Linked DNA regions of Homo sapiens: all the other regions are linked to region 2. The links are contacts of gene promoters, found by promoter capture Hi-C in blood cells and fetal thymus (Javierre and others, 2016). All regions are on one chromosome and are shown on one strand. The core of a region is centred on a gene start or on the middle of the fragment in contact, and the rest is flanking DNA. Distances in the headings are between cores, read along the strand shown. Region 1 overlaps DAP3 (death associated protein 3). Region 2 holds the start of FDPS (farnesyl diphosphate synthase). Region 3 holds the start of MSTO1 (misato mitochondrial distribution and morphology regulator 1). Region 4 overlaps YY1AP1 (YY1 associated protein 1). Region 5 has its middle 30 kb from the start of MSTO1. Region 6 holds the start of YY1AP1 (YY1 associated protein 1).

What was found. The method cuts DNA at HindIII sites, captures the fragments that hold promoters and counts their contacts. A CHiCAGO score of 5 or more calls a contact.
Region 1: a contact is called between a fragment that was not itself captured here and the fragment with the promoter of FDPS in region 2, in 1 of 17 cell types (endothelial precursors). The highest score is 5.0, in endothelial precursors.
Region 3: a contact is called between a fragment that was not itself captured here and the fragment with the promoter of FDPS in region 2, in 1 of 17 cell types (endothelial precursors). The highest score is 5.4, in endothelial precursors.
Region 4: a fragment that was not itself captured here is called in contact with the fragment with the promoter of FDPS in region 2 in 1 of 17 cell types (endothelial precursors); the score reaches 5.2 in endothelial precursors.
Region 5: a contact is called between a fragment that was not itself captured here and the fragment with the promoter of FDPS in region 2, in 1 of 17 cell types (endothelial precursors). The highest score is 7.0, in endothelial precursors.
Region 6: the fragment with the promoter of YY1AP1 here is called in contact with the fragment with the promoter of FDPS in region 2 in 1 of 17 cell types (endothelial precursors); the score reaches 5.1 in endothelial precursors.

Annotation. Positions count from the first base shown.
Region 1 is chr1:155,713,528-155,717,722 of GRCh38, forward strand. DAP3 (death associated protein 3) reads left to right here. Exons shown (of 13, transcript NM_004632.4): 3 at 3,479-3,601. Among named protein-coding and RNA genes, the nearest start is that of DAP3, 27 kb to the left of the region's middle. The HindIII fragment of the contact is 2,846 bases long and covers 845-3,690 here.
Region 2 is chr1:155,306,360-155,310,222 of GRCh38, forward strand. FDPS (farnesyl diphosphate synthase) reads left to right here and starts at 2,507. Exons shown (of 11, transcript NM_002004.4): 1 at 2,507-2,606; 2 at 3,430-3,606; 3 at 3,684-3,846. The coding sequence starts at 3,431. It also overlaps a transcript of PKLR not described here. RefSeq lists enhancers at 1-140, 1,265-1,334, 2,237-2,366, 2,697-2,866. The HindIII fragment of the contact is 5,584 bases long and covers 1-3,863 here.
Region 3 is chr1:155,607,614-155,611,737 of GRCh38, forward strand. MSTO1 (misato mitochondrial distribution and morphology regulator 1) reads left to right here and starts at 2,605. Exons shown (of 14, transcript NM_018116.4): 1 at 2,605-2,719; 2 at 2,812-2,947; 3 at 3,426-3,495; 4 at 3,603-3,678; 5 at 3,936-3,990; 6 at 4,076-4,124. The coding sequence starts at 2,636. LOC105371452 (a long non-coding RNA gene) reads right to left here. Exons shown (of 2, transcript XR_922171.2): 2 at 1,996-2,279. RefSeq lists enhancers at 1,592-2,466, 2,467-3,341. The HindIII fragment of the contact is 2,982 bases long and covers 319-3,300 here.
Region 4 is chr1:155,660,492-155,664,633 of GRCh38, forward strand. YY1AP1 (YY1 associated protein 1) reads right to left here. Exons shown (of 11, transcript NM_139119.3): 10 at 816-932; 11 at 1-422. Among named protein-coding and RNA genes, the nearest start is that of YY1AP1, 26 kb to the right of the region's middle. The HindIII fragment of the contact is 3,778 bases long and covers 1-3,716 here.
Region 5 is chr1:155,637,702-155,641,803 of GRCh38, forward strand. It overlaps the pseudogene LOC100419798. Among named protein-coding and RNA genes, the nearest start is that of MSTO1, 30 kb to the left of the region's middle. The HindIII fragment of the contact is 688 bases long and covers 1,998-2,685 here.
Region 6 is chr1:155,686,913-155,691,187 of GRCh38, forward strand. It overlaps YY1AP1 (YY1 associated protein 1), which reads right to left and starts at 1,862. Exons shown (of 11, transcript NM_139119.3): 1 at 1,747-1,862; 2 at 1,159-1,289. It overlaps DAP3 (death associated protein 3), which reads left to right and starts at 2,179. Exons shown (of 13, transcript NM_004632.4): 1 at 2,179-2,262. It also overlaps the pseudogene LOC124904430. RefSeq lists enhancers at 1,268-1,902, 2,278-2,327 and a silencer at 1,738-1,787. The HindIII fragment of the contact is 12,603 bases long and covers 1-4,275 here.

The DNA.
Region 1 (4,195 bases), core at 1,018-3,517, 410 kb after region 2:
ATTCTTTATTCCAGGGCAAACTAAATACCTGTAGTGTGTTAAGTACTCAGAGAGGGAGATATGAAAATGAATAAAATCTGACCCCTTTTCTTCCGAGCGTGTAGCCTAGGAGACAAGCATGTGTAAGATAACATGATACAGTTTTTTTAAAATAGAGACAAACTTGGATGTCAATTCTAGTTCACCACCTAAAACTCTGTGACCTTAATCAAAATTACTCAGCTTCCCTGAACCTTATCTTCCCCATCATAACACAGGGTTGATAATATTCTGCCTATCTTCTAGGATTTCTAGGTTTAAAACTAGTACATGTACAATACTGTATTGCCTAACATCTAATAGATACTCAGTTAACAGTAGGCATGAGTACAACTCAAGGCAGTGTAATAAAATTGCTGTGCAATACAAAGAGTGCTATTAGCAGAAAGGAAAGAGAATTACTTTTGACTGGAGGTGTCTGGCAAATTTTCACTGAGGATGTGACATTCGAGTTGAGGCTTGATGAATGGGAAAGATTTAAATGGGGAGAGAGGGAAGTTGAAGTAGAATGAGCAGAAGTATAGAGGCATAAAAGTGACATGTTTCAGCATGGTCATATGGTTATAAATGAAATTACAAAGGTAGGCTGAAGTCATCACAGTGGTCTAGATTGTTATGCTAAGGAATTTGAGACTTATTTTGACATCGTTCTGGAACCTTCTAAGCTTTTTAAAATTTTTTTATTGTCGGGGTCTCACTGTGCTTCCCTGGCTGATGTGGAACTCCTGCCCTCAAGCAGTCCTTCCACTTTAGTTCCCAACTAGCTGGGACTACAGGAGTGGACCACCACACCTGGCTCCATCCAAGCTTTTAGATTAGTCGAAGGTTAAACCTATTTTCGGGAAGGTTAAGGACTATGAACGATGAAAAAATCAAAGATTTAGAGATAAAGATACAAGTTAAAATGTTATGTGTTGGCTGGGCATAGTGGCTCACACCCATAATCCCAGCACTTTGGGAGGCTAAGGCGGGCAGATCACCTGAGGTCAGGAGTTCCAGACCAGCATGACCAACATGGTGAAACCCAGTCTCCACTAAAAATACAAAAATTAGTCAGGCGTGATGGCGGGCGCCTGTAATCCCAGCTACTGAGGCAGGAGAACCACTTGAACCTGGGGGCAGAGGTTGTAGTGAGCTGAGATCATGCCATTGCATCCCAGCCTGGGCGACAAGAGTGAGACTCCGTCTCAAAAAAAAAGAAAAACAAAAGTGATGGGTACAATACTGTCTCTCAACCTGTGTAGTGGGAATGTTAGACACATAATTTAGGATCATGTCATAAAATGGGTGTAAGTGTGAGGAGGGATGGTACAGAGATAACATATATTTTCTGCACTCAAAAAGCTGCTTGGTAGGCTGGGCACGGTGGCTCACGCCTGTAATCCCAGCACTTTGGGAGCCTGGGGTGGGAGGACCACCTGAGGTCAGGAGTTTGAGACCAGCCTGGCCAACATGGCAAAATCCTGTCTCTACTAAAAATAGAAAAATTAGCTGGGCATGGTGGCACACTCCTATAATCCCAGCTGCTCAGGAGGCTGTGTCAGGAGAATCACTTGAACCCAGGAGGCGGAGGTTGCAGAGAGCCAAGATTGTGCCACTGCACCCCAGCCTGGGCAACAGAGCAAGACTCCATCTCAAAAAAAAAAAAAAAACCCACAAAAAGCTGCTTGGTGAGCCAGGTACAGTGGCTCACACCTATCATCCCAGCACTTTGGGAGGCTGAGGCAGGAGGATCGCGTGAGTGCAGCAAGTTGGAGAGCAGCCTGGGCAACATAGCAAGACCCTGTCTACAAAAAATTAAAAAAATTAGCTGGGCATAGTGGCATGCACCTGTAGTCCCAGCTACTTGGGAGCCTGAGATGGGAGCATGGCTTGGGCCTGGGAGTTTGAGACTACAGTGTGCCGTGATCGTGCCACTGCACTCCAGCCTGGGTGACAGAGCAAGACCCTGTCTTAAAAAAAAGAGAGAGAGAGAGAGAGAGAAGCTGCTTGGTGAGACTATAAAATACTGGTAGCTTTCATATGATAACCTATTTATTAAGCAACTCCCTTATTACACTATCCATTATATTTCTGTTCTCTTGCTTCTCCTGGCTGCATTCCCTAATCTTTTCCTCATAACACATCTTTTCACTTTCTACATAAGGTTTGTTATCCTTAAGCTCAGTTTTGGGGTTTTTCACTTACCATTTTGTTAGATTTGTCTACCGAAATCCGCCCCCTTCCCCTCCCTGTTGGTTCAGAGGTTTCGGTGTACAGTTCACTGAGTTACCTATAGAGCAGTTTGCTTTCACTTAGCTGTGTATTTGACATACTCCCTTATTACATGTCTCTAATGAAAGATCCTTTATTCCAGGGCACAATTAGCAGGAAAATTGTTACAGGGCATGTAATTATAGCTGTCACATAGTGAGGAGCATTGCACTGATCCCCTGATAACTGAGGTGACTGACAGAGAATGAGAATTACACAGTTTTGACAACCATTCATCGCTGTGCAAGCGCATTAAAAGAGCTTTCCTGCTTCAAGTTTGCTAATGGCTATGCTATGTATGCTCCTGAATAATCTCTGACAGAATTGTTTGTTTCCGTATAGGACAGACCCCTGATAAGGCAATACACAGACTGGAACAGATACAGAATATGAATAATGTCATTGGACTTAGTGAATTTTAAATAATAACAGGGATCCTTTTTACATAGAAGAAAAATGTTGCCGGGCGCGGTGGCTCACGCCTGTAATCCCAGCACTTTGGGAGGCAGAGGCGGGCGGATCATGAGGTCATGAGATCGAGACCATCCTGGCTAACACAGTGAAACCCCTACTAAAAATACACCTCTACTAAAAATACAAAAAATTAGCCAGGCGTGGTGGCGGGTGCCTGTAGTCCCAGCTACTCGGGAGGCTGAGGCAGGAGAATGGCGTAAACCCAGGAGGCGGAGCTTGCAGTGAGCCGAGATCGCGCCACTGCACTCCAGCCTGGGCGACAGAGTGAGACTCCATCTCAAAAAAAAAAAGAAAAATGTATGTTAGTGACATCCCTATTGCAGACATGGCTCACCTTCTCAGTGTTTTGGCAAGCATAAAAAGTTTGATTAGCCAGGTGTGGTGGCTCAAGCCTGTAATCCCAGCATTTTGGGAGGCAGAGGCGGGCAGATCACCTGAGTTCAGGAGTTCAAGACCAGCCTGGCCCATATGGTGAAATCTTGTTTCTACTAAAAATATAAAAAATCAGCCGGGTGTGGTGGCGCACGCCTGTAATCCCAGTTACTCAGGAAGCTGAGGCAGGAGAATCACTTGAACCTGGAAGGCGGAGGTTGTAGTGAGCCTGAGATCACGCCATTGCACTCCAGCTTGGGCAACAAGAGAGAAACTCCATCTCAAAAAAAAAAAAAAAAAGTTTGATAACCCCGTAACACTGAAATGGTTTCTCTTATAGTTGGACCCTGGGCGTTTTTTACACATGGGGACCCAGGCTCGCCAAAGCATTGCTGCTCACCTAGATAACCAGGTTCCAGTTGAGAGTCCGAGAGCTATTTCCCGCACCAATGAGAATGACCCGGTGAGTTACTAATATGTATATGGGGTTTCTCAGGGCTTATGATTTGTGTTCCTGTCCTCATTTTGCATAGGAAAACTGAAACTGAAAGAAGCTTAGTAGATTTGCATTTACTCAGATAGTGCACCTGAGATAGCACTCTGGAACCCAGATTCTCCCTGTCCCTGTCTGATACTGTGGTAACATACACTGGCCAGCTCGGTCTGTATCAGTTCCCATGTAATCTCTACTAGTGAATTCACCTAGTTCCACGGATTTTGCTGAGCATAGAGTTGTCGAATACTCAATACTTACTAAGTTTAATTTCTTACTGGGCAAGTTTACCAATTATTATTGCTTATATTATGTGTTGGGTGACAGGCTTTTTCTTAAAGGACCATGTAGTGAATATTTCAGGCCGATGGACTGAGATGATCTGTCACAAGTACTCAACTCTGCCATAAACAAATGGGTGTGAACATGTTCCAGTAAAACTCTATTTACAAAACAGGTGCCCAGCCATAACTTAACAAACTCTGGTATGGAGAGTACTAAAGAAATTAAACTACTTGCCCACAATTTTCTACCAGGGCAGGTTCAGAACCCAATTTTTCTAAT
Region 2 (3,863 bases), core at 1,257-3,756:
CCATATGGGCCGTGCCCCGACGCATGCCAGACTGGAGGAGGTGAGGCCACTGGGCCCAGGTCTCTGCTCAGTGTGGGGATGGAGACAGGAGCGAGGCCAGTCAGGTTTAATAAAGGAAGTCGGGGGGCACTGACAGAACTGTGCTCAGCACACAGAGGGACACCAGGAGAGACAGAGCATTGTGAGTGAGGGCAGAAGGAGGTCAGGGCAGCTTAACAGACGAGGTGCCCCCTGGTCAGACACATACACACACGTAAACATACACAAAGCTCCCCACCATTCCACACACACACACAAATACGTACTCCACTCTAACACTCACACAATATCCACACTCACACATGCAGATTTATGTATCCGGAATTGGTGGGTTCTTGGTCTCACTGACTTCAAGAATGAAGCCGCGGACCCTCGCAGTGAGTGTTACAGTTCTTAAAGGTGGTGTGTCCGGAGTTTGTTCCTTCTGATGTTCAGATGTGTTCGGAGTTTTTTCCTTCTGGTGGGTTCGTGGTCTTGCTGGCTCATGAGTGAAGCTGCAGACCTTCGCGGTGAGTGTTACAGCTGTTAAGGCCGCGCATCTGGAGTTGTTCATTCCTCCTGTTTCATTCCTCCCGGAGCGATCTCGGTTCACCACAACCTCTGCCTCCCGGGTTCAAGCGATTCTCCTGCCTCAGCTTCTCGAGTAGCTGGCACTACAGGTGTGCGCCACCATGCTGGGCTAATTTTGGATTTTTTAGTAGAGATGGGGTTTCACTATGTTGGCCAGGCTGGTCTTGAACTCCTGACCTCGTGATCCGCCCACCTTGGCCTCCCAAAGCTCTGGGATTACAGGCGTGAGCCACTGCACCCAGCCGTGTTTTGTCCAATTCTTTGTTCAAGATGCCAAGAACCTGGACACCCTCCACCGGTGACAGTACCTTATATACACGGAATCATACAGTATCTGTCCTTTTGAGTCTGGCTTATTTCACTTAGCATAATTGTCAGAGGTGCGTGAACCAGAGCAACTCCATCTTGAATAGGGACTGGGTAGAATAAGGCTGAGACCTACTGGACTGCATTTCCAGTTGGTTTAGGCATTCTAAGTCACAGGATGAGATAGGAGATTGGCTCAAGATACAGGTCATAAAGACCTTGCTGATAAAACAGATTGCAGTAAAGAAACTGGCCAAAACCTACCAAAACCAAGATGGCAACAAGAGTGACCTCTGGTGGTCTTCAACGCTATACTCCTACCACATGCTGTGTCGACATCAGGGAGTTAACTGTATATGGTCTACAAAGCAGAGGCATGAATAATCCAACCCTTGTTTAGCTTATAATCAATAAATAACTGCCTGGGCCAAGTGGCTCGTACTTGTAATCCCAGCACTTTCAGAGGTCGAGGTGGCTGGATCACTTGAGGTCAGGAGTTCGAGACCAGGCTGGCCAATCTGGAGAAACCCCCTCTCTACTAAAAACACAAAAATTAGCTGGGCATGCTGGCAGGCACCTGTAATCCAGGAGAATCACTTGAACCCGGGAAGCGAGGTTGCAGCCTCCCACGTAGCTGGAATTAAGGCGCGGACCAGCACACCTGGGTAATTTTTGTATTTTTAGTAGAGAAGGGGTTTTGCCATGTTGACCAGGCTGGTCTCAGATTCCTGACCGCAGGTGATCCGCCCAAAGTGCTGGAATTACAAGTGTGAGACTCATCTTTTTTTTTTTTTTTTTTTGAGACGGAGTCTTGCTCTGTCTCCCCAGCTAGAGTGCAGTGGTTCGCTGGATCTCAGCTCACTGCAACCTCTGCCTTACGAGTTCAAGCGATTCTCCCGCCTCAGCCCTCCTGAGTGGCTGGGATTACAGGCGCGCGCCACCACGCCCGACTAATTTTTTTTTTTTGTATTTTTAGTAGAGACGGGGTTTCACCACATTGGTCAGGCTGGTCTCGAACTCCTGACCTCATGATCCACCCGCCTCGGCCTCCCAAAGTGCTGGGATTACAGGCGTGAGCCACCGTGCCCGGCCCAAGACTCATCTTTCTTAAGCCCTTAAAGCACTTTGCACACATTACCTCATGGTATTACCACCCTCATTCAACAGATGAGGAAAGCTAGTTTCAAGCAAGTTCACTGAGGATCAGAGACGTTAAATGATTTGCCTAAAGTTAGAGAACTAATAAGTGAGAAAGCTAGTCCTGCTGCGTTTTACTAACGTGCCAATCAGCTGCCCAGGAAGATAATGAAAACTTGAGTAAGACAGGCAGCCAAAGCCACAGCGGGGACGTTCCCAGCCTGGCTCGCTTCCGGCACTGACGCCTCCAGCCGCGACCTCTAGACTTCAGCCCTTCCATTGGTCGTCCGTCACAGTGCCACAGTGCGCCATGCTCACACGACGGCCAGCAGCCAATCAGCGCGGCTCATCTTCGCCCAGCCAGGACACGCAGGATCGCGTTATCTGTCCCTCCCGCGGGCACATTGGGAGTTGTAGTCTAATTATATATTTCCGCCCTTAGTGTGGGGAGAGCGGGAACTACTCGACCCACAGAGCCGATCGCGGAGCGGATTCTGCTTTTAGGAGTACCCGCCAACAAGCGGGACCGAGCAGGAATCCGTATCTGGGAACAGGTGAGAGAGGATGTGTGCTGGGCCTTGGAGGAAGGGGGCCGAGACCGGGCCTTACTTCTGTAACGATACTGTGAGGCATCGGAAGGCCAGCCTGTTGTGTCCGTTTTGAAGGTCGGTGGGCTAGACTGGCTGGCCTTCTAGGGGTGTGGAGACTTCCCAACTCTGCCCTTGTGCTTTCCTGGAATCCCCAATATGCCCGGACCCCGGTTTACTCCTTTGCTGCGAGCCCTTCTCTCCCGTCCAGAGTTGCTCCGAGCCTATCTGCTCAGTCCTAGCGATTCCTGTGGGGCTTGGGACGCGCGGTTCAAGCACCCCGGACCATATGGATGCAGCACCCATGGGTTCTCGCTCCAATGCTTCTTTCCTCCTTGGGGCGTAACTCAGACCCTGGGCACCCCTCTCCACTGCCCAGGGGAGACCTGGGTTCTAGATTTGGCTCTGCCTCTACTATCTTCCTACCTCCTAGAGCCTCAGTTTGGCTTGTGTAAAATAGGATGACTTAAGGGTCCTTTCAGCCCCTAATCCTGGGGTACTTTACTCTGTACCGCCTCCTTACCCAGCCTTGTGCACGCCATCTTGAAGGCACTGAGTTCTAGCCTGTTTATTGTAAGTGGTGATTAGTTGGGTCTCAGTCACCCAGCCATACTTTTTTGTTCCCTGCGTATCCTTCCTGTAATTGTCCCCAAGCACATTCCACAAGAGGGAGGGGCACTCTGGGCTAAGGCTGGGGTGGGAGTTATCTGGGGAGCTGCCACCATGCCTCTGCCTTTGGTGCTTGCCCCTGCAGGGAGTGCTTAGTGCCCCCTCCCTATGCCACTCCCAGGATGCCCCTGTCCCGCTGGTTGAGATCTGTGGGGGTCTTCCTGCTGCCAGCCCCCTACTGGGCACCCCGGGAGAGGTGGCTGGGTTCCCTACGGCGGCCCTCCCTGGTGCACGGGTACCCAGTCCTGGCCTGGCACAGTGCCCGCTGCTGGTGCCAAGCGTGGACAGAGGAACCTCGGTGAGTGTGGTTGGGGTGAGGGGCCTTGGGGAGGGGAGCAGCTGATCAGGTTTCTGACTTGTTTTTCTTCTACTTAGAGCCCTTTGCTCCTCCCTCAGAATGAACGGAGACCAGAATTCAGATGTTTATGCCCAAGAAAAGCAGGATTTCGTTCAGCACTTCTCCCAGATCGTTAGGGTGCTGACTGAGGATGAGATGGGGCACCCAGAGATAGGAGATGCTATTGCCCGGCTCAAGGAGGTGAGGGATTCATGACT
Region 3 (4,124 bases), core at 560-3,059, 300 kb after region 2:
ATTCATGATCAAAACTCTTAGCAAATCAGGACAGAGAACTTCCTTAAACTGTCAGAGTATCTATAGAAACTTTTCAGCCCACATCATACTTAGAAAAGTGAAATAGTAGCCGGGCATATTGGCTCACGCCTGTAATCCCAATATTTTGGGAGGCCGAAGTGGGCAGATCGCTTGAGCTCAGGAGACCAGCCTGGGCAAGATGGTGAAACCCCTTCTGTACAAAAAATACAAAAATTAGCCGGGTGCAGTGGCCTATGCCTGTAATTGCAGCTACTTGGGAGGCTGAGGTGGGAGGATCGCTTCAGCCCAAGAGGTTGAAGCTTCAGTGAGCCGGGAGATTGCACCACTGCACTCCAGCCAGGGCAAAGAGAGTGAGACAGTCTCAAAATAAATAAACAAAACTAAATATAATACATGTGAAAATACAAAGAGCTCAGAAGAGATAAGAGCATCTAACCTTTATTTCTTGAAAAAATTTCAAACCTACAAGAATGCTCAGAGAGTACTGCAAAAGAACACCTATAATCTTCACCTAGATTCAATTAACATTTTGTCACTTTTTAAAATTTTGAGACAGGGTCTCCCTCTGTCTCTGGCTGCAGTGCAGTGCTCCAATCATGGTTCACCGCAGCCTCTAATTCCTGCGCTGAAGCGATCCTCTCACCCTAGCCTCTGGTTAGGACTACAGATGTGGGCTGCCTAGCTAATTTTTTGAAAAATTCTTTTATAGAGAGGATAGGGGGAGGGGGAGTCTCACTACATTGTCCAGTCTACCCTCACATTCTCGAATTTCTGGACTCAAGCGATCTTCCTGCCTCAGCCTCACCAAAACGTGGGAATACAGGCGTGAGCCTCTGCGCCCAACCAATATTTGCCTTATCTCTTTTTTTTTTTTTTTTTTTTTGAGATGGAGTCTGGCTCTGTTGCCCAAGGTGGAGTGCAGTGGCGCGATCTCGGCTCACCGCAAGCTCCGCCTCCCGGGTTCACGCCATTGTCCTGCCTCCGCCTCCCAAGTAGCTGGGACTACAGGTCGCGCCCGTCACCACGCCCGGCTAATTGTTAGTATTTTTAGTAGAGACGGGGTTTCACCGTGTTAGCCAGGATGGTCTCGATCTCCTGACCTCGTGATCCACCCGCCTCGGCCTCCCAAAGTGCTGGGATTACAGGCTTGAACCGCGGCGCCCGGCCTTTTTTATTTTTATTTTTATTTTTTTATTTTTTATTTTTTAGAGAGGAGTTTTGCTCTTGTTTCCCAGGCTGGAGTGCAGTGGCGTGATATCGGCTCACTGCAACTTCCACCTCCCAGGTTCAAATGATTCCCTGACTCAGCCTCCTGAGCAGCTGGGAGTACAAGGGCCCGCCACCACGCCCGGCTACATGTTTTGTATTTTTAGTAGAGACCGGGGTTTCATCATGTTAGCCAGGCTGGTCTCAACCTCCTGACCTCAGTTGATCCTCCTGCCTCGGCCTCCCAAAGTGTTGGGATTACAGGCGTAAACTACCGCACCCGGCCCTTGCCTTGTTTCTAAATACACACAAGAATGTTAATCATAGCACCTAATAGCCCAAAAATTGGAAACAATCCCAAAAGCTATTATCAGCAGTATATATATATATATATATATATATATTTTTTTTTTTTTTTTTTTTGAGACAGAGTCTCGCTCTGTCGCCCAGGATGGAGTGCATTGGCGTGATCTCGGCTCACTGCAAGCTCCGCCTCCCGGGTTCACGCCATTCGCCTGCCTCAGCCTCCCGAGTAGCTGGGACTACAGGCGCCCGCCACCACGCCCAGCTAATTTTTTTTTGTATTTTTAGTAGAGATGGGGTTTCACCGTGTTAGCCAGGATGGTCTCGATCTCTTGACCTCGTGATCTGCCCGCCTCAGCCTCCCAAAGTGCTGGGATTACAGGCGTGAACCACCGCGCCCAGCCTATTCTTTCTTTAGAATAGATCAGTGGTGGCGTATTCATACAATGGACTATTCCGCAGTGATGAAAATGAATTATAGATATTTGCAAAAATATGAATTACATAAACCATATTGAGCAAAAGACGCCAACAGATACATACTCTCTTTACATAAGGTGTTAGATACACAGAGATAGATAAATACGTGTAAATGATAGAGATATGATAGCTAAGCCAGTCCACAGGTTATTAGTCGTGGTCCACGTGACTTCTGAAGAGATGAAGGGGCATGGGAGGCTTTAGGGGAGCTTCCGCTTTTCTGGCAAGGTTTTCTTTTTGCCCGGGGAGCTATCAGCCAGCGGAGAGATCTGTGAGAAGGGATAAGACCTCAAGACAAGTAGGAAGCAGAGCCTTCCACGGCCCGCGCCCTGGCGGCCCCAAGTCAGCGGCGGAGACGGCGCCCACCCCGCTCCAACGTGGAGCAGGAGCAACGGCGTGGCCCGTGGAGCCCCGCCCCTCACAGGCAACCACAGAGAAGCCGGACTGGGCCACGTCTAGGAAGAGGTAGGAAGGGATCGGCGCATCGTTTCTCCAATGGGAAAGGATGTGTTTGCGGGCCAATAAGTAGCCGAGAATAACACCCGCCCACGCGCCTGCCAAGCCAATCGGCTAGGAGCAGCGAGCGGCGCGGCTGAGGCGCGGCGGCCCCGTGGAGCAGCGCAGTATGGCGGGCGGGGCCCGGGAGGTGCTCACACTGCAGTTGGGACATTTTGCCGGTTTCGTGGGCGCGCACTGGTGGAACCAGCAGGTGAGGTCAGCCGGCAGCTGCCCCCGAGGAGCCCTTCGGGATCTACAGTCCCGACGTTCAGCCGGCCTGCCTCGTCCTCTCTGCTTCCCCAGGATGCTGCGCTGGGCCGAGCGACCGATTCCAAGGAGCCCCCGGGAGAGCTGTGCCCCGACGTCCTGTATCGTACGGGCCGGACGCTGCACGGCCAGGAGACCTACACGCCGCGACTCATCCTCATGGATCTGAAGGGTGAGGTGGTGGCAGAGTTAGCCGATGCCCCTTATTTCCCTTCCGCGTGCCTAGTCCTTGCGCTGCCGTTATCTTCAAGACCCTCCCACCTTACCGAGCTCCAGGACCGGAGATGAGGAGCTGAGCACAACATGCCAACACTCGAGGGGCCCACGACAGTTGCTCAAGAGCCATTTCGGGAATAGGCTGCTAGGCCCTGGAGACAGTGAGGACTTGAACTGCAGCACTCCTGTCAGACCCCTGGATGTGGTTCCCCCCGCGTCCCACAGCTAATGACTAAGCTGGGAACCGAAAGATGGAATCTAGATTCTCCTAAGCCAAGGTTTTTCCCCCAACTAGTGTATATCCCAGAAAGCTTGGAAGAGCCAAGTGCTGGAGAGATGGTGACAGCAGGTTGTCAGGTGATCAGAGGAAGGTTAGCTAGAGGGGAAGGGTGCCCAGGCTTTGACCTAACATTGTCTCTGTTATTTCTGTACAGGTAGTTTGAGCTCCCTAAAAGAGGAAGGTGGACTCTACAGGGACAAACAGTTGGATGCTGCAATAGCATGGTGTGTAACTGATGTATGGATAAGGGTGGGGATCGTGTATGTACGCAGAACGCTGGATAACTCTGATCAGAGTGCAGTTTCTTTGATCAATCTCCAAACTCTTTCAGGCAGGGGAAGCTCACCACACACAAAGAGGAACTCTATCCCAAGAACCCTTATCTCCAAGACTTTCTGAGTGCAGAGGTGAGGGCCTCTGTCCTGAACTTTTTAACCCGGTGCCACAACCCGAGGGTCTCCATAGGGGCAGGTAAACGGGGATTTTAATCATTTTAAGTGTCTTAGAATGATATTTTGGGAAAAAGCACTCCTTTTCCTAAGGACTGCGACTCGGTGAACAGAAAGGAGGCTATGCGGTGTGGCCAGCCAACTCAAGGAGGACGAAGCAACCTTTGCCTCTAAACTGCCTGGAACTAAATGTCGATTTTTCTGACCCCTCCCAGGGAGTGCTGAGTAGTGATGGTGTCTGGAGGGTCAAATCCATTCCCAATGGCAAAGGTGAGACTTCTCCAGATACTGATGGATGGGGGCTTGGGTAGAGCAGAAACATGGAGAAAGGTACATTTCCTCTGCTTGTCTTCAGGTTCCTCACCACTCCCCACCGCTACAACTCCAAAACCACTTATCCCTAC
Region 4 (4,142 bases), core at 578-3,077, 350 kb after region 2:
CCACTGACCCCCAGTGGAGGGACACCTGGAACTGTCTGTAAAACAGTGGCTGGCTGTATTGGGTGAGGAATCCGGAGCACCATTTTGCTCGGAGGGGCTTCTGAATGAGTTGATTGGGCTGGTGTTTTCCCAGGGTTGAAGCTGGGCTGGAGAGAGGGGCTGGGTTGGATAAGGAGGGGTTTCAGGACTGATGAACGCTTCTGTCTCCAAGCCTTCTTGGGGAAACGGTCGGCAACTGGCTTCAGTTTCAGGACTACACCCTTAGGCAATAGCAGTGGGTACCGAGTTTCACTCCCCAACTCTGAGTTGTCTTTTTCTAGGCCTTGATCTGAGTTGATCTCAGTGGTTCCAGTCATATTTCCTACCTCTCTAGCACCATCAGCCATGTGCCGCAGTTCTTCCTGGATGGATGGCAGACTGGCCTATTGGAAATGAGAACACTCTGATCCAGCACATGTCAGAATTTGGGAAAAAGAATAGGACTTTCTAAGTTTAGGGACCTGAGACAAGCTCAAGGCATCTTTCCAAGGGACTCTGCATATGAAATTTCTACAAAGACCACAGTCCAATTATACACTTTAGAAACTCTTCTCTGAATTTCCTTTAGCAAATTACCATTTTACCCATTATTTTGAAAATGTTGTAGAATCACCCGGAGAAGGGCAGAAAAGTAAGGGAAGAAAGGTGAATCAGGAAGATTCCTGAAGTCCTAGTTCTACAACTAAAGCATTAGACGATTAAGGAAGTCCTTGATATTCTCTCAGAACTTTCAGTGACCTTCTGCCTCCTACAGACTTCGAGGAAGAGGGCTGTACCTTTAACCAGAATGGGAGCCGGTGTTCTTCTCTCTCTATAGGTGGCTTCCACTGATGTGGCTGGATCTCTTCACAGCATTTTCCTAGGACTGGCAGCTGTTTGGTCTTCTTATAAAACTTAACATGAAAAAAATGCGCATGAATTACATTCCTTCTGGAAACACTGTCTTCTGTCAGGCTGGTGAATGGGGTGGTGGTGGATCAAGAGAAACACACACACACACACACACACACACACACACACAAGACCACATACACAAACATCCATGAACACACATATACGAATAGCATATGCTGAATACTTGTACATTTCAAATTAAACTAATCTCTATTTAAAGATTTTATAGTTATTCAGTATTTTCTTTTTGAGACGGAGTCTTGCTCTGTCGCCCAGGATGGAGTGCAATGGCGCGATCTCCGCTCACTGCAAGCTCCACCTCCCAGGTTCACGCCATTCTCCTGCCTCAGCCTCCGGAGTAGCTGGGACTACAGGTGCCCGCCACCACACCCGGCTGATTTTTTTGTATTTTTAGTAGAGACAGGGTTTCACTGTGTTAGCCAGGATGGTCTCGATCTCCTGACCTCGTGATCCACCCGCCTCGGCCTCCCAAAGTGCTAGGATTACAGGCGTCAGCCACCGCGCCCAGCCCTATTCAATATTTTCTAACTGATGATCTCCATTCTGGTTGCCAGGAAGGGGAGAGTTTAGGTCACAGAGAGAAAAGGAAGCAGATGCTAAGAGCAATCTTATGTAAGATTTGTTCCTGCTCAACAGCTGCAAAGACAGCATCGTAATCTATAAAATGGACACATCAAAGACTTTAAGCAAATGATGGTGTGAAGGGCATCAGAAGGGAAGGAAAAAAAAAAAGACCGAGGCAGTTCAGTTTTAAGAGTAAATAGGCTGGCCTTGGTGGCTCACATCTGTAAACCCAGCACTTTGTGAGGCTGAGGCGGGCAGATCACTTGAGATTGAGAGTTTGAGACCAGCCTGGCCAACATGGTGAAACTCCATCTCTACTAAAAATACAAAAATTAGCTGGGTGTGGTGGTGGGTGCCTGTAATCCCAGTTACTTGGGAGGCTGGGGCAAAAGAATCGCTTGAACCTGGCAGTGGGGGTGGTAGGGTGGAGATTGCAGTGAGCCAAGATCATGCCACTGCACTCCAGCGTTGGTAACAGGGTGAGACTCCATCTCAAAAAAAAAAAAAGAAGATAAGAACTGAACTTAAACCATGACAATAAGCATCTGTTCATCCAACATGATGAACATAAGATGTTTTCTATATCCTAGGCACTGTGCTAAAAGCTAAGCACACACATAAGGGAAGCAATTCCTGCTCTCATGGAGCTTACAGACTAGTGGGAGAGTCAAGTGGACAAATGGCATCCTACATTAAAAAATGTACAAAGGGCTGGGCATGGTGGCTCATGCCTGTAATGCCAGCACTTTGGGAGAACGAGGAGGATGGATCACTGGAGGTCAGGAGTTCATGACCAGCCTGGCCAACATGGCGAAACCCTGTCTCTAATAAAGTACAAAAAAAAATTAGCTGGGTGTGGTGGTGCACGCCTGTGATCCTAGCTACTTGGCAGGCTGAGGCAGGAGAATCACTTGAACTGAGGAATTAAGAGGTTGCAGTGAGCCAAGACTGCACCACTGCACTCCAGCCTGGGCAACAGAGCAAGACTCCAACCCCGACACCCCGCCCCATCCCCCAACAAAAGTACAAAGGTGTGCACGAAAAATGACACAAAACTAAAACTTAAACACAAATTACTTCTGGCCAGGCGTGGTGGCTTATGCCTGTAATCCCAGCACTTTGGGAGGCCGAGGCAGGCAGATCACAAGGTCAGGAGATCAAGACCATCCTGGCCAACATGGTGAAACCCCATCTCTACTAAAAATACAAAAATTAGCTAAGTGTGGTGGCGCGTGCCTGTAATCTCAGCTACTCGGGAGGCTGAGGCACGAGAATCACTTGAACCCAGGAGGTGGAGAGTGCAGTGGGCCGACATCACGCCACTGCACTCCAGCCTGGCAACAGAGTGAGACTCCATCTCAAAAAAAAAAAAAAAAATTATTTCTGCAGAAGAATAAGGTTTATCACGTGTGCCTTAAAACCATGGATACGCCAGGCATGGTGGCCCACACCTGTAATCCCAGCACTCTGGGAGGCTGAGGTGGGTGGGTCACGAGGTCAGGAGTTTGAGACCAGCCTGACCAACAAGGTGAAACCCCGTCTCTACTAAAAATACAAAAATTAGCAGGGTGTGGTGGTGAGCGCCTGTAGTCCCAGCTCCTCGGGACGCTGAAACAGGACAATTGCTTGAACCTGGGAGGCAGAGGTTCCAGTGAGCCAAGATCACGCCATTGCACTCCAGCCTGGGCAATGGAGCGAGACTCTGTCTCAAAACAAACAAACAAACAAAAACAAAAAGAAAGTACTTTTTAAAAAACCATGGATAAAAATAGACAAATACTAAGGCATATTATCATGCATTTTCAAAATATTGAAGCCAAAGGAAAAATCCTGCATGCTGTCAGAGGTTGAGAAAAACAGGTGTTACACAAAGACTCAAGAGTTAAATGGGGCCATGGCTCATGCCTATAATCCCATTACTTTGGGAGGCCAAGACAGGACGAGCACTTGAGGCCAGGAGTTTGAGACCAGCCTGGCCAACATAACGAGACCATGTCTTAAAAAAAAAAAAAAAAAAAATTAGCTGGGCATAGTGGTGCACACCGGGTTGGAGACACCAGTGAGCCATGATTTAGCCACGCTCCAAACTGGGCAACAGGGTGGGACCCTGTCTCGGAAAAAAAAAAAAAAAGTTAAATGGCATGAAATTTCTTAACACCACACTAGGAGTTAGAAGAAAATGAAGTGAGGCCCTTAAAAGCTTCTTAAAAAAATTATTTCCTATCTAGAATTCTAGATACAGTGACAGAGGAGAGTATTATTTTTTCCTTTTATTTTGAAATAATTATATTCATAGGAAATTGCAAAAAATAGTACCAAGAGGTCCCATGTACCCTTCAACCAGTTTCTCCCAATATAATGTTTTTATGTTACATAGAAACAAGAGCTATACATATAAACAAGGTACACAGTACAATATTACTACCAGGAAACTGGCCAGACATGGAGGATGTGGTGGCTCATGCCTGTAATCCCAGCACTATGGGAGGCCAAGGTGGGCAGATCACTTGAGGTCAGGGGTTCGAGATCACCTGGCCAACATGGCAAAACCCCATCTCTACTAAAAATACAAAAATTAGCTGGGTGTGGTGGCTAATCCCAGCTACTCAGGAGGCTGAGGCAGG
Region 5 (4,102 bases), core at 1,092-3,591, 330 kb after region 2:
CCAGGCTGGAGTGCAGTGGCGCAATCTCGGCTCACTGCAAGCTGCGCCTCCTGGGTTCACGCCATTCTCCAGCCTCAGCCTCCCGAGTAGCTGGGATTACAGGCGCCTGCCACCACGCCCGGCTAATTTTTTGTATTTTTAGTAGAGATGGGGTCTCACTGTGTTAACCAGGATGGTCTCGATCTCCTGACCTCGTGATCCACCCGCCTTGGCCTTCCAAAGTGCTGGGATTACAGGCATGAGCCACTGCACCCGGCCAAGGGTTGCCCAATTCTATTCAATCTTAATCAGTTTGACCATGAGGTGAGATTTTTATGAACCTTTCATAACCGTTTACAAATCTTGCTAAAGAGGAGTAGCATCTTAAGAAAACCTTGTTGTGCTTTTCTTTTTTTCTTTTTTTTTTTTTTTTGAGATGGAGTTTCACTCTTGCTGCCCAGGCTGGAGTGCAATGGCGTGATCTAGGCTGACCACAACCTCTGCCTCCAGGGTTAAAGCGATTCTCCTGCCTCAGCCTCCCAAGTAGCTGGGATTACAGGCATGTGCAATGACGCCCAGCTAATTTTTTGTATTTTTAGTAGAGATGGGGTTTCTCCATGTTGGTCAGGCTGCTCTTGAACTCCCAACCTCAGGTGATCCACCCTCCTTGACCTCCCAAAGTGCTGGGATTACAGGCGTGAGCCACCATGCCTGGCCATGTGCTTTTATTTCAGTGCTCCATTTTCAGAAAAACCCTTTTGAATTTAGTCAATATGTTCACAGTTTCCTTTTGGAAGATTAATTTTTACAGTCTTTCCACATTTGCTTAAACTTTTTGTTTTATTTTATCTAATTTAAGACAATCCTGTATCCCTAGGCAAAATGTGCATTTCCATGCCTTCTTATAATCTTTGACTAAAAAGATACTTTACTGTTCTTGCACACCTTGCATGTAAATCTATTTTCAGTAGTCTAAATTACATGTTATAACAGTAACTCTTAGCAATTTTCAACTTCAATGTAAAACCTGGTAAAGTTGTTTTAATTATGTGCTAGGTGCAGATAAAGTCTGACTCCTTCCAGCATAGTTAGGGGAATGGTTACTTCCATATGTCCCCAGGTCTTACCAATTGTGAAGCAGGCAAGTTTAAAGGCCAAAGAAGAAGTTTACAACCTTAAAACATTCAGCAAACCTAGTATCTGACCTGCATAATTTAGACCATATATTTACATCTTGAAGACATCTACACTTTACCAATAATTTTTAAGGCTGTTTTTATTTTTCAAAAATTAAAGTCACATGAACTGAAAGGTACCACAACCTTCATTATCCCTTTAAAAAATATTTAATCCAAGCACTTACCCTTCAAGTCAATTAATTAGAGGTCTTTTTTAACAGACATCACACACATAACCCATATAGGACTATATAGATAGAAGAAGATCCAGCAGCTCAGGATGGAGCTATTTAGGAATAGGGCCAGAAAAGCATGTAGTTTTTGGAGCCTAATAAACATGCACAGTTGGAAGACAAAAACAGATTTTAAAAGGGATTCCAGGGATTCCATGTGGAAAACAGATTTTTTTCCTAAATGGGATTTCTGGCATCTTGTCTGTTTTCCCAAGGAGTCCCAGGCCACCAGAAGTCATCCTAGGGCCTTTCATCCATGCACCAAGAATGGCAAGACAGAGTGGGAAAAAGTAATTCAGTTGCCAGAGAAAAAAAGCCTTTTCCAGAAAAACAAGATTTATGGAGGGAAAAACATAAAGGCCTCTTGAATATACCTATAGGTTGGATACTCAGTTTCAATTAAGCCAAGTGCTCTTCATGAAAATTGTTTTTCATTAATCAAAACTTTACAGAGAATATAAACAGTGATCCTTATCATTTCTTTTACTGGTTTGTACCACTACCTGTTCACAATCATGTTCAGGTTCCCCAATTTCCTCTGGGAGAAAGTGGCTGGGTTTAGGCAAGGGCAGGTTTTCAACTGGACTGCAGATTCCTCTAGCAGCAAAGCTTGATTTTTGATGAGGCGATTTTTCTGTTAGCCAGAGACTTCCCTTAGAGGACAGCAGTCCTGCTATACTGTGTGGGGTGCAAACAGTTAAGTTATTCCCCATGTTTAACCCAGTGGTTTCTGCCACCAGCAAAGCCACTGCTGCAACTGCTTGGAGGCAGGCTGGCCATCCTTTAGCCACGAGGCGAAGTTCCTTGCTTAGGTAACCTACTGGCTGTTGAGTTGGACCTTTAGCCTTAGTTAAAACTCCCAGGGCCAGCCAGGCATGGTGGCTCACTCCTGTAATCCCAGCACTTTGGAAGGCCAAAGCGGGTGGATCACAAGGTCAGGAGATCGAGACCATCCTGGCTAACACAGTGAAACCCCGTCTCTACTAAAAATACAAAAAATTAGCTGGGCATGGTGGCGGGTGCCTGTTGTCCTGGCTACTCGGGAGGCTGAGGCAGGAGAATGGCGTGAACCCAGGAGGTGGAGCTTGCATTGAGCCGAGATCGTGCCACTGCACTCCAGCCTGGACGACAGAGCGAGACTATGTCTCAAAAAAAAAAAAAAAAAAAAAAAAAAGACACACACACAAAAAAACAAAAACAAAAAAACTCCCAGGGCCATTCCCTTCCTTTGTGATACATAGAAACTAAATGCCCTCCCTATGGGAAGACTGAGGGATGGATGGTGTATTAAATAAAGCTTGCTTTAACTGGTTAAAGGCTTTTGAGTTTTAGGTTCCCAAGTTAGGGAGTGAGTTTTAGCTGCTTGAGTTTCTTTTGTGAGGTGGTATAAAGGGCAAGCTATTTCACCATACCCAGGCACTCACAGTCTGCAAAATCCAGTAATGCCTAAGAATACCCTTAACTGTTAAAGGAAATGGGCTTAATCCTTTCCTTACCTGGTGCTCTGTTCCCTTCTGATAAGACCAGACCCAGATACTTTACTGAAGTTTGACAAAGCTGAGCTTTAGATTTTGAGACCCTATATTCCCTTTCAGCTATGAAATTGAAGAGAGCCTTAGTACCTTCCTGAGACCTCCTTGGTTGGGGCACAGAGGAGAGTGTCTTTACATACTACAAAGTTTCAACTTGAGGGTGACAAAAACTAGAATGATCTTTGGACAGGGCCTGTTTCAGCAACTTGCGTCTGCTATCAGGTGCTGCCTGAGTAATGAACCTGTTCTTTATTGAATTGAGAGACAGGGAGGTGTGTTTCACTAAAGCTTTTTTCAGCCTTTCCAAAAAGGCTGAGAGATTTTCATTTGGTTTCTGATTCAACAAGGACAGTTTACAGTAATTAAGAGTTTTGGTTCTGATTCTTTGCAAGCCTTTTAATATGCACATCAGAAAGTGTTTTCTTTTCCACTTGTCTATGGGATCACCAGGACTCCAATTAGAGGTTTTTTTCTTTTTCGGAGTTTTGCTCTTGTTACCCAGGCTGGAGTGCAATGGCCCAATCTCGGCTCACCGCAACCTCCATCTTCTGGGTTCAAGTGATTCTCCTGCCTCAGCCTCCCGAGTAGCTGGGATTACAGGCATGCGCCACCATGCCCAGCTAATTTTGTATTTTTAGTAGAGACGGGGTCTCTCCATGTTGGTCAGGCTGGTCTCAAACTCTCAACTTCAGGCGATCCACCCGCCTCGGCCTCCCAAAGTGCTGAAATTACAGGTGTGAGCCACCACGCCCAGCCCCAATTAGGGTTTTTAAGGGGCATAGTTTCTCTTCCTGTTGGGAAAGGGGATTCTGTCTCTTTTTTACCATGTTTCCCCTTTTGACTGGGTTTTTCTTTTGACTGGTTATAGGAGACATGCTGTTCATCTCTGAATATCCCTGCTGTCTGTAGGGCTTCTTGTTTCTCTGCAACAGTTAGGGTTTGGCATAAAAGTAGCATAGCATCTCCCCATGTAAGATCAAACACTTGGATTAGATTTTAGAAAGCCTCTATATATCTATGAAGGTCATCAGAGAACTTGCCTAGCTATCCCTTTATTTGTCTAAGGTCCTGCAATGAGAAGGGAACTTGAAACCTAGTAGCACCATGTCCATTCAGCATTTCCTGCAAAGGCAACAGCGAAGTTGGCAGCTTTTTGGGTAGCATAGCTGGAGGGGCTGAT
Region 6 (4,275 bases), core at 612-3,111, 380 kb after region 2:
CTTCCTGAGGCACCATGGTATGCTGAATATACTGCTGCAGTAGTAGTGAAAATATGGGAGTTACAGTTCCAACTTTGTCACCAATTTAACATGCGGCCTTGGAGAAGTTCTCTCCTTATGCCTAAATTTCCTATTTTGTAAAATGGAAGAAAGCATCCTACCATTTTCACAGAGATTCAGTATCACAAAGAAACTGAAAGAGCTTTCTTATTGTATTGTAAACTATTACTATAAACCCGCGACAACAAATAAGGCCACCCATTCTTTACAGCTTTGTAGCAATGATTCTGTTAAAGATATTTTGGCCCTTCACATTTACACAACTCACTCTAACCAAAGGCACAAACTATTCTTAAGACCACAACTGGCTATGCCAAGTTTCTCCCCTCCCTGACCTCACAGACACATGCTGTACAGAACACTACCATTGCCGCTCTTTCCCAACAAGTAACTAGGGGCTCCCAATCCCTAAAATACACACACATATCAACCTGCAAGGAACCTCCCAACATTTATTCAAGAAATAAGCTAACTTATAAGGGGAACTCCATTACACTTACACAAATAAAGGCAAACTCTTACGGAAACACTTGCCATCCTCACATACACACACCAACACAGCCGCTACACACCAACAGACCATCTGTCTGCTAGACCAAAAACATCTCTTTCCATGTACAAACTAACCAGTGACATTTATTAAACGTACAACACTGAGATCATCCTGTCGTTCCCACATACCGTTCAACGCGGCAGGGACACCACAGACCTTGTCACACAGGTAAAATCCCCTCTCAAGATCGTGTCCTCGACCACTCTTATCCCTTAATTAAACACACACAAACTGGACTATGGGGGAGGCTCCGATCATGCCTACAAACACAAACTAACCTGTCAGGGGCACAGCCGACTCCGCCTCCACTCGCTTACTTCCCAGCCCCCTCCGGGAGTCTGCCTGTCAGGGACACCCCTTCACCCCGCCTGGAGGGACTTCCCGGTAGGCTCAGGATCCCCCTCCCTGCTCTCCCCTCCCCCATCTTCACCACTGCTCTCCCAGAGGTCCAGGTCCGGGAGATGACAGTGGCTCCCAGAAAGCCCAGGATTCAATCGCTGAGAGAGTGCTTAGGCCCGAATGCCGGCCCAAATCGTTCTACTCACCGTGTCGGAGGCCGAGAGCGATGAGAGTACAGGGAAGTGAGGAAGAGGGGGTGGCCGCCAGGCTCCTCCGCTTCCCTGGGTCCACCGCGGATCCCTCCCGCTTGTCAGGAGGCGGCCAGCGGGTAAGCCGACTGGCGGAAATGCGAGAGAGGAGAAGGGAAAGGTGGAGGGCTAAAGGGGCAAACTGAGAGGAGGCGGATCCCGCAACCGACACTGGGATCGTTTCCCCTCGCAAAGCGAACCCAAAATGGCGGCGGCAGCGGCGGCAGCAGAGTGGCCGCGGCAGCTCCTCCAGAGGGAGGGAGCTAAGGGCGCCTAGCGACACCCCCAACCTCCCACTCCTCCCTCCTCGCGTTCTTCCCCACGGTCCCCCGCTTCGCCCGACTCCGGCCATGTAGCGCGCACGTCAGCCCGCACGCGTACGAGTGTCTACGGGCTCGTCGCTGGCTGCTCCCACCAACCACCACCTTCGGCCGTCCTGCGAGCCAGCCATCCCGTACGCGCTCACCCACGGGAACCTCCTCGCCCAGTTCTCCACTCCCCCTCAGACCCTGTCAAGCCGGCTCCAGCGCAGGCCCTCACGCGTACCTTCAGCGGCGCGAGCCCAAGCCTTCTCCACCTCCTCTTCTCTCCTCCCCCTCCCTCCCCGCCCGCACGGCCACCAACCGCCGCCAAAGCAGCCGCCGCCAGCACCCCCACCCTACACTCCTCGCGCGTGCGCCTCCCACAGTCCCCACCGCGGGACTGTTCCATTCCTGGCGGCTGCAGGGGCAGGAGAGGAAGGGACCGGCAAAGCGAGTCTGGCTTGCCGTTTGACTGGAATTGCCAGGGTGGCCGGCCGAGTCCCATGACAACCTACCTCCCTGGGTTCGTCGCCGCGGCGCTGCGGCTCGCCTCCTCCTCCATGGGACCGCGGCGAGGGGATCGAGGGCGGCCTAGCGCCCCTCTGCCGGCCGGTGGTTGGAGGCCGCGGCGGCTGCGCGTTGAGTCGTTTCCTGCCGGATGACCCGACCCTTTTTTGCAGTCTCAGGACGGGCGCTTTGGAGCCGGCCCCAGGCAGCGTGTGTCGGTCGCCTAGTCTGGAGAACTAGTCCTCGACTCACGGTGAGGGAATGGACCGACACGGGTATTGTACCGCTGAGGGAAAGGAGCGGGACTCCGGACCTCCAGGAGGTAGGGAGTGAGGCCGGTAGACCGGCGCGCCTCCGGGGGGGATTCCTCCCGGGCGTTGAGTTGCCAACCTGGGACCCGAGGAAGTTCGGCGTGGTGGTGTGCTTTTTGTTGTTGTTAACCCTCCTCGGATTTCTCGAATTTCACACCACTGTCCATATGCGATGATGTTTGTTTGCCCTTGACGCACTTACTCATGGATGGTACTTCAGCCTCGTTAGACAGCCTGGTGATGGAGGATGAAGAAACCATGTGCTTCTCATTCAGTTCTGGACTCAGTTTCCCTTGTCTTCAGCAAGTTATTTTTGTTAGTTCCTTATCAAAAAGTGTACATAAAAATTAGGCAACTCCAAACATGCCTCCAGGGTTGGTGTGTGAAATAATAAGATAGGGCTGGGCGCGGTGGCTCACGCCTGTAATCCCAGCACTTTGGGAGGCCGAGGCAGGTGGATGACAAGGTGAAGAGATCGAGACAATCCTGGCCAACATGGTGAAACCCCGTCTCTACTAAAAATACAAATATTAGCCGGCCGTGGTGGCGGGCGCCTGTAGCCCCAGCTACTCGGGAGGCTGAGGCAGGAGAATTGCTTGAACCCGGGCGGCGGAAGTTGCAGTGAGCCGAGATCGCGCCACTGCACTCCAGCCTGGCGACAAAGCGAGACTCCGTCACACACACACACACACACACGAAATAATAATATATGTAAAGTGGAATTAGCTCCTAGGCATAGGGAAGGTGCAGAGTATTGCCGTGTTGTCATTTACAGTTCTGTTGATGTCGATAACGTTTGTGGGTGTAATGGGTAGTGTTCTGTCCCTCCAAGTCGTTAATAAAACAAAGCAGGCCGGGCGTCTTGTTAAATAGTTGTATCAATGACTTGATTTAGATTAATGAGGATATATTTTTCAAATTTATGCCTTTTACAAAATTTTTAAAGAGTAGGTAATGTCGGTGATAGATATAAAGAAAGGAAAAGATCTCCAGATGTGGAATCTTCTACTGGATCCTGTAACAGAAAGAAGACATTAGGCTGGGCGCAGTGGCTCACACCTGTAATCTCAGCACTTTGGGAGGCGGAGGAGGGCGCATTGCTTGAGCCTAGGAGTTCGAGACCAGCTTAGGCAACACGGTGAAACCCCATCTCTACAAAAAGACACAAAAATTAGACAGGTGTGGCACACGCTTGTAGTCTGAGCTACTTGGGAGGCTGAAGCAGGAGGATTGAGGAAGAGGTTGCAAAGTTAGCCGAGATCACGCCATCACACTGCAGCCTAGGTGACAGAGCGAGACCCTGTCTCAAAAAAAGAAAGAAGACATTAGCAGAAAAGCTGAGGAAATGCAAATAAAGTCTGCAATTTTTAAATAGTATTGTACCAGCTTTAATTTCTTAATTTTGAAAATTGTACCATGGTCATATGTATGTAACATTAAGGAAACTCTAATGAAAATTGTAAGAAAGCACTTTGTACTACCTTTGCAACTCTTCTGTAAATTTACACTTTTTTTTGTTTGTTTGCTTTGAGATAGGATCTATGTCGCCAAGGCTGGAAGGCAGTAGTGCAGTCCTGGCTCACTGCAACCTCAAGCTCCTTGGCTCAAGGGATCCTCCCACCTCAGCCATCTGAGCAACTAGGACTACAGGCACATGCCACCACATCCAGCTAATTTATTTTATTTTTTTTTTGAGACGGAGTCTCGCTCTGTCACCCAGGCTGGAGTGCAGTGGCGCGATCTCGGCTCACTGCAAGCTCCGCCTCCCGGGTTCGCGCCATTCTCCTACCTCAGCCTCCTGAGTAGCTGGGACTACAGGCACCCGCCACCACGTCCAGCTAATTTTTTGTATTTTTAGTAGAGACGGGGTTTCACCGTGTTAGCCAGGCTGGTCTCGATCTCCTGACCTCATGATCCACCTGCCTCAGCCTCCCAAAGTGCTGGGATTACAGGCG